Linked DNA regions of Homo sapiens: region 1 is linked to region 2. Evidence: promoter capture Hi-C in human tissues and cell types (Jung and others, 2019). All regions are on one chromosome and are shown on one strand. Each heading gives the region's core, a stretch centred on a gene start or on the middle of the fragment in contact. The rest is flanking DNA. Distances are from core to core; before and after follow the strand shown.

What was found. Contacts are between HindIII fragments. The study calls those that stand out against the background at their distance.
Region 1: the fragment with the promoter of SRXN1 here is called in contact with the fragment with the promoter of NSFL1C in region 2 in 1 of the 25 tissues and cell types used here (lymphoblastoid cells).

Annotation. Positions count from the first base shown.
Region 1 is chr20:651,318-655,516 of GRCh38, forward strand. It overlaps SRXN1 (sulfiredoxin 1), which reads right to left and starts at 1,883. Exons shown (of 2, transcript NM_080725.3): 1 at 1,659-1,883. The coding sequence starts at 1,868. LOC107985423 (a long non-coding RNA gene) reads left to right here and starts at 1,636. Exons shown (of 2, transcript XR_001754452.2): 1 at 1,636-2,157; 2 at 2,472-4,199. RefSeq lists a silencer at 1,761-2,320. The HindIII fragment of the contact is 30,072 bases long and covers 1-4,199 here.
Region 2 is chr20:1,464,633-1,468,442 of GRCh38, forward strand. NSFL1C (NSFL1 cofactor) reads right to left here and starts at 2,217. Exons shown (of 9, transcript NM_016143.5): 1 at 2,088-2,217. The coding sequence starts at 2,192. RefSeq lists an enhancer at 1,446-1,947 and a silencer at 2,242-2,511. The HindIII fragment of the contact is 15,990 bases long and covers 1,317-3,810 here.

The sequences.
Region 1 (4,199 bases), core at 633-3,132, 810 kb before region 2:
CTAATACAGGTGTATGTAAGCAAAGGCAGAGCTGGTTCTGGCCCTCAGAGCCTACGGTTCTAGCACGGAAGGCAGGTGTCTAGACAGGACGTTAAAAGCCAGTGGGCTGTAATCCCAGCACTTTGGGAGGCCGAGGTGGGCAGATCGCTTGAGGTCTGGAGTTTCAGACCAGCCTGGCCAACAGGGTGAAACCCCATCTCTACTAAAAATACAAAAATTAGCCAGGCGTGGTGGTGGGCGCCTGTAATCCCAGCTACTTGGGAGGCTGAGGCAGGAGAATGGCTTGAACCCGGGAGGCGGAGGTTGCAGTGAGCCAAGATCGTGCCACTGCACTCCAGCCAGGGTGACAGACCCAGACAACGTCTTAAAAAAAAAAAAAAAAAGCCAGTGAGATCAGAGCTATGCAGGTGGGCACACAGGTGGCTGCAGGCCCACAGAAGCTCCTAACCCGGTAGGGATGGTCAGGGAAGATCCTGACACTGAGACAGGAAGACCGAGAAAGAGTGAGAAACGACAAGGCAGAGATAGAAGAGGTTCTCAACGGGAGAAAAAGCCCAGTGGTGGGACAGGGCATGCATGGCAGATCCCTTCCCATCTCAGCCAGGCGCCGTGCTACTATTGTGGCAACAGATAAGATGGGACGAGGTCCTCGCCCTTGTGGAGTGCACGTGAGGTCAGGAAGACAGAAAATAAAATGCAACACAAATAGATGTATAATATAATTTCTGGTGGACATAAGTGGTATCCTGAAAAACATCTCGGGCTAAGGGGAGAGCTAGAGAGGCCAGTGACTCTGACCAAGGGTGATCAAGGAGGCAGAGAGCTGAACCAGGCAGGGGAGCAGGCCCTGTGGTTGTCTGGGGAAGTGGCTCCAGGCAGTGAGGACACTAGTGTAAATACTAGGACTGAAAGTTATCGGGGGTGGCTGTAGAGGTGCTGGGTGGGGCTTAGGGATCTCATGTGCTCACCTTCCAAGGGTCGGGGGAAGGGGACACAACGTTATGTAGGCCTAACCTGACACCTGTTCTTGCGGGGCCCCCAAGTTCCTGCCAGAATCACTCCGGTATTCTTAACACCCTTCCTCAGTGGTGGAGCTGACCCTTGACCTCTCCCACTTCCCATTCAGACAAGGGCCTCCCAGCAGATATGACACACCTAGTCCCACTGTCACTGACTGTCACAGCCATGAGAGCCCACGGCTTATCTCCGGGTAGTGCGGTGGCCATGTGCTGGGCAGTGGGGCCCAGGCTGCCTGGGTGTGAATTCCAGCCGTGTCACTTTTTAAGCGCCTGATCTTAGTCAAGCCGCTGAAATCTTCCCTGCCTCAGTTCTCGTCTGCAAAAGAGCCACTATCTACCTCCTAGGGTTGGCATAGGAAACTGAGGGACTTCCTGCAGTTCCTGGACCACTGCAAGCACTAGCGTTATAAGCGTTATCATCACTACTTTAATTATCTCGCCCAATTCCCTCCTTGCTCAAGTGAGGAAACAGAGGCCCAGAGAGGCCCAGCTACTTGCTCAAGGTCACACAGCAGAGGCTGAGCTCCGGCTGGGCCCGGAACCAGTCCGTCTCGCGTCCATCGCAGCGACCTCCCTCCTCCGGCAACCTCCCTCCTCCGAAGCCCTCCCTCCGGTTGGCTGGACTCCCCGAGGCCTCACCCGGATCGTGTCCACGAGGCTCTGCACCTTGGCGGGGTCCAACACGGACGGCAGCGGCCGGATGAGCACGCTCAGCGGCACGTTGTGCACCGCGGCGATGCGGCCCGAGTGGATGCTGCCGCCCTGCGCGCCGCCGCTCGGCCCGGGCCCCTCGGGCGCCCCCCGACCCGCGCCGGCCCTGCCCAGCGTTCCTCCTGCACGCAGCCCCATCGTCGCCGCCGCCGCGGGACTCGCCGCCTCCCCCCGGCCTTAACTCCGGCCGGGCCATACCATTCCGCGCGGCCGGGGGGGGGGGCCCGTGCCAGGGCAGCGCGCGTTTCTCCCCCGACCCCGCCGCGGTCCGGCCTCGACCCCGCGGTCCCCAGCCCGACTCCGGCTCCGCTCGCCAGGTGCCGCCAGACTCGCGCGGGGCTCAGGCTCTCCACCGGGGGGCGCCTCTCGCCTCCCCTGCGCCGCGCGGCGTCCGGGGAGTGGAAACGCCCGGGCGGGCTGACTCAGGGTGAGTTTGCAGGTCGCGGGGCGGGAGGGGCGCGGGTGACGCACCGGCCGGGCCGACTTAGGCCGCGGGGGCGGGGGCGGGGGAGAGCGCGGCGGACCTGCCCAGCCAGGGTGAGTCGGCAAAGCCCGCGGTGCGCTGCTGCCCCGCTGCTGGGGTTCCTAGCCAGCGAGGTTATGATCCCCACCAGCGGTTCCACTTCCAGTCTGGCGCCGGCTGTGTCTGGAGTCGTTCCGAACATTTTGCACGTGTATTAACGTATCTGAACCTCAAAACAACCCTGCAAGGAAGGTATGACTGTTATTCCCATTTTACAGAAGAGGAGACTGAGACACAGGTTTAAGTGATGTACCCAAGATCACGGAACTAGTAAGTGGCCGAATCCGCGTTCAAATCCAGACGGTCTGGCTCCAGAGTCCGCCTTCTACCCCACCGTTGGCTGCCTTGGTTCAGCAACAGTGACTGTCACACGGAGCCCTCAGGAGTCGCGCTGACAATGGGTGGGCCCTGCCTTCAAGTTCCACACTGTCTGTTTGTGTCATTACAACACTACTGGAAGTAGGTGCAGTTATAGACCCGCTGTTCAAGGTCAGCTGAAATGAAAGTCAGGTCACACGAGTCCAAACTGTGGGGCCACTTAACCACCAACTCCAAGCAGGAAGGTGGACGATCCCAGACTCGGTCGAAGACAAGCATGTCTGGTTTGCTTGTCTTCCTTCTCAACCTGAATGGCACGAACATGGAGAAATGCATACTTACCCTGCCAGCTGGAGAAAACTGGAGACGAAGGAGGGAGCCAGGAGTTTCTACTTTGCCTTCCACCAGTTGCTGACACTTTCTGAACCCCGTCTGTAAAATGAAGTCATGCTGCCCATCACTCAAAGTTGTGTGAATTGAGAGAGTGCTCATAGTGCTCTGTGAATTGCATAACATCCATTTTGCTGTTGAAGATCATTTATTTTGGGTTCTTAGTCTCTCACAAAACCTTAGAACACTGACACCAAGACTCCAGCCTTTCCCTTTCGAAACATAATTCCCGTGCGCACCTAAATGATACTTTATTTCAAGAAGTAGAACTGACACCCACACCTCAGCCCCAGAATTATTCAGAATTAGAGAATTTCATCAAGAGGGAAGTTATCCCTTCTAAAACATCTTCCTCATTACAGGAAGTAAGAATGGCAGGATAACAGTTTCTAGAGTGGAAAAGTGGAGCTCTGGCCTGATTCTATCATCATGGTGTACCCAGGGAGGCCTCATTTCCTGGTATCAAATTCTCTGTGTTAAGATATCTATGGCCCAATTCAAAATGGCTTAAGCAATAAGAAGGTTTGTTTTCTCACATAATAAAATGTTTGGAGGTAGGTATGTCCAAGGTTGGTAAAGAGGCAGTTGAACAATGTGACCAAAGACTCCAGTTCTGGCTGGGCCCGGTGGCTCACACCTGTAATCCCAGCACTTTGGAAGGCTGAGGCAGGCGAATCACTTGAGGCCAGGAGTTCGAGACCAGCCTAGCCAACATAGTGAAACCCTGTCTCTACCAAAAGTACAAAAATTAGGCAGGCATGGTGGCGCGCGCCTGTAGTCCCAGTTACTCCAGAGGCTGAGACAGGAGAATTGCTTGAAACCGAGAGGCAGAGGTTGCAGTGAGCTGAGATCATGCCGTTGCACTACAGCCTGGGTGAGAGAGTGAGACTCTCTCAGAAAAAAAAGACCCTGGTTCTGTCTATCCTTTTGTGCCATCATCCTTGGTGTTCTGTTATCCTGCGGTGTGCCCCTCATGGTCCCAAGATGGCTACTGTAGCTCAAAACATCACATCATTACATGCGAATGTCCACAAGTGGAAGTTAGGACATCCCTTCGAGCCTCTTTTTAAGAGTGAAGAAACCTTCCCTGGCTGGATGCAGTGGCTCACACCTTCTGACCTTCCACTCCTCAAGCCCCGGAGTCAACTCTAGTCACACTGGCCTCCTTGCTGTGCCTCTTCCACAGCGAATGTGTCCTGGCCTCAGACCCTTTACATTTGCTGTTCCCTGTGCATGGA
Region 2 (3,810 bases), core at 967-3,466:
AAGGCAGTAAGAATGGCTGGGGTGGAAGACACTCTTTATTCTCATTTTATGAAGAAACGTGATCTAGTAAAAGTAGCACACATTTAGTGAGCATTTACATGCCAGGTTGTTCTGAGCATTCTACATACGTTAATTTGTTTAATCCTCAAGAACTCTATGCTATTAGTACTCTTATCATCTCATTTTATAGTTGATACAGAAGCACTGAGGATTAAAAAAAAATTTGTTCAAGTTTACACAACTGGTAAAGAGAGGAGCCAGGTTCCATCCCTGCTAGTGTGCTTAGGCCCTCACTCTTAAGCGCTTCCAGTACAGCCCGGAGTCAGGAACTGTGGAGTCAGTCCAGGTTGCTACTTTTCCTTTCTTTCAAGTTGTTTCCTAATCTGTGAAATGGGGGTACCTGTCTCACCAACCTGCACACTGGATGAGATAATCCATTAAGATTTATGCATACTCGCATCTTAGGTTTACACATACAGAAGGAATATGGGAATCCTTTGGTCATTTGTGACATCTCTGTCACCAACTCAACGGACAGGCATTCACTAATCACTTGCTTTGCACAAACACAAGAAAGCATTGAGGTCACAGAGATGAAATAGACATGGCCTCTGTCCTCAGGGTCACCAACTTCACAGGAGACAGTGAGCTGTCAAGGGATAAAAGTAATCTGCTGGGAGGCAGTGTGCTGTCTCAGGCCATGTAGTGAACTGGCATTCTCAGGGAGCCTACATTCAAGTCCTGTTCCTGCCAGGCAAGTCACATGCATGATCCTCAGTTTCCCCACTACAATGTGAGGGGAACGAGACAGAAGATCTGTTGGTCACAACACTGTGTGCTTTTAGGTCTTTCAGGTAGAAACTTTTTATTTCTGCCCAGCATAGGGGCTTCCCATTGTGTCTAGGTGTGATCTAGGTGTGATGCTTTACCGAATTCTTATGTTTGGGGAGTAATTTACGTTTGGCAGCAGACTCAGTTCAAATTCCAACCCCGCTACTTACTGGCTATGTGACCCTGAGCAAATTCTTTGCCCTCTGTGCTTCCAATTCCTCATCCATAAAATGGGTCTAGTCTTTACCTCATAGTGTTGCTAGGATCCAACGAATCATATTATGTAAAGTGCTTGGCACATGGTGGTTTAAAGCTTGGGCTCTGTCTGCTTGCAATCAGACAGAACTGGGTTCCACTTCTACCTCTTCTGCCTGGTAGCTAGTGAGGCCTTGAGCAAGTTACTTAACCTCTTTAATCTCAGCTGCAAAATGCGAAGGTTAAATGACAAAAGACATGTAAAGCAGTCAGAACAGCGCTTGGCTCATGGTAGGTACTCAATAAATATTAGTCATCACCGTCATCATCTACCTAAGACGAAGCTGGCCAAGAATATTTATGCAATTCTTTCTACAGTTAATTACCGAATGCTTATTATGTGCCAGGCATTGTTCCAGGCACTGGGAATTCATCAGTGTACAAAAATCCCTGCCTCGTGAAGCTTAAGTCTTCTTAGCAAGTATTTAGTGAATACTCAGTACGTGCCAATGAACTACACAGCAATTTCCACGAGACTCCCATTTTACAGATAAGTTAACTACGCAAGGTGAAGAAGCTCCAACCTTGCGCCACCACCCCAGAGGTATTCTCCCAGCAATTAGGAAGGCTGGGCGGCGGTCAACTCCCGGGCTGGACTTCGGAAGTGGAAATGAGCGGCCACCTAGTCCCGAGTGGGGCTTCACCCAAGAGCTGCTCACTCGGACCAGCCCGGCCTCCAGCAGATACTCGGCGCGGCAGCCACGCCCCCAGGCGCTCCCTCTCCTCGCCGGCTGCCGCAGCGCCCGAAGTCTCGCTGACGCCGCAAGCGGGCGAGGCAGGGTGAAACTGGCACGGCAGAACTGGCTGGGGCTGGCCCGCGTTCCCCCACTCCCAAGCCGAGCAGGCGACGCGTGACAAGCGGTCCCGGGACCATGAGGCCTGGGTCGGGCCGCGGTAGAGCGGGGATGACTGTGCGCTTCGGCCGCCGCGGGCTTAAGGCACCAGGCGCCCGCTCCCAGCAGTCCCCGGCCCACCCGACACAGCCCGCCGCGCGGCGCTACCTGCAAGTCCCAGCCGGCCGACTCGAGAAAGAAGCGGGCCCGGTCCTCCTCGGCGCCCGTCACCGCCACGAACTCCCTCAGCGCCTCCTGTCGCTCCGCCGCCATCTTCGCCCCGTGCGCCTTCCAAAGCGCTCCGGCGGCCGCCGCACAGGCCCAGCCCCGCTGCCGCGTTCCGCTTGCCGGTCGACGAGGCCCAGCCGATGAGGGCCCAGCAGCTGGGAGCCCGCCCGCAGCCCCGCCCCACGCGGTGCCTCACGCAAAGCCCTCCGTGCGGGAAGCCCCGCCGCTCCGCGCCCTCTGGCGACCGCGGCGCGAACCGCAGCCTAACGGCGGGGGTGGGAGCCCGAAGGATGAGAGGCGGGGCGGGTCTTACATACACCTGTGGGCTGAAGGCTCCCTGCAGGAGTCAGATTCCCAGTTATTCATTGACGCAGCCCTCATTTCATTAATTGTGCATTCGTTCATTCACTTACTTGTCAAGCATTTACTGAGAGCTATCAATGGCCCGACGTTTTTCTAGGGCTGTGGATATGGCAGGGAGCAAAACAAAGTCCCTGCTCCCATGCTTCTTACATTCTAGGGGTAAAAATTCAGACCTTGAACAGGCTAGGCCTCCGCTCACAACACGTCCATGCCTCGTTATCTCGCCCCGCATAAAAGACAGTCTCATGGCCTGCCTGCAGGACCCATGAGAGATGGGCCAGTTCCTCCCTCTCATCAAGGGATCCGCTAGCTTCCTCTGCTCCAGGCGCCTTGCCCTCCTTGCTGTTCCTGGAACTTGCCAGTTATCTTGCATTTGCCTCAGGGCCGTTGCATTAGCTGCTTCTGTGCCTGGAGCACCTTTCCCTTACCGATGGGCAAGGCGCTCTCCCCGCTTTCTTTGGGCCTCTGCTCCAAGGCCACTTTCTTAGGCACAATCCTGTCTTCTGGGTCCTCAGCTTCTTTGCCCTCTTGCCTCTCCAAAGAGGAACTTACTTGTTCAGCTTACTTGTTCTTTGTTCTCTATTTTCAAAGCCTAACTTCCTTGTTCTTTGTACCTCCTTACCCCTAGTTACGGTAAACAACCTTCCCGCGGGTCCTAATCTATAACTCACATCTGTTCCCTTGGATACCCTCGCTACAATTGCCATTCCCGCGGAAACTCTTCTTCCTGCCGAAACCGCTTGCCCTACCACTGTAGCCCACATTTCTGCTCCATTTGAACTAGCCAATCGGGATTAGCTTAGATTGCGCAGTCCAGCCCCAGCCAATGGGAACAGGACACAGAAGCAGCGACTAACCGCATTAGGGATAAAAACCCCTTCTCTCTTTTGTTCGGTGTGCTTTCCTGAAGACCAGATGTGTGAGTGGCACCCTTCTGCAGAAGTAAATTGGCTTTGCTGAAAAATCTTTTATTTCAGTGCTGGTTTTCCTTGAGACTTCGAGCTTTAATTTCCAACACCACCGTGGGACACTCTTCCCTTCCTCTTCCTCTGTCGGCCCCTGCTCATTCTTCAGCTCTCAGTTCAGGTGTCCCTTTCTCAAGGAGACCTTGAGAAGGTGCCCAGGCTTAGTCAAAACCCCTCTTAATCAGGTTATGAACAGCACAAAGTCCAGTCTTCCCTCAATTGACACAATAGTTGCTTTCCTGGAAAATTCGGTGTCTTATTAACACTGTGCAAGAAATCCTTTAAGTTTATATGACAAACGAGTTAGGGCTTGGGTTAGGTTATTAGGAGCATGG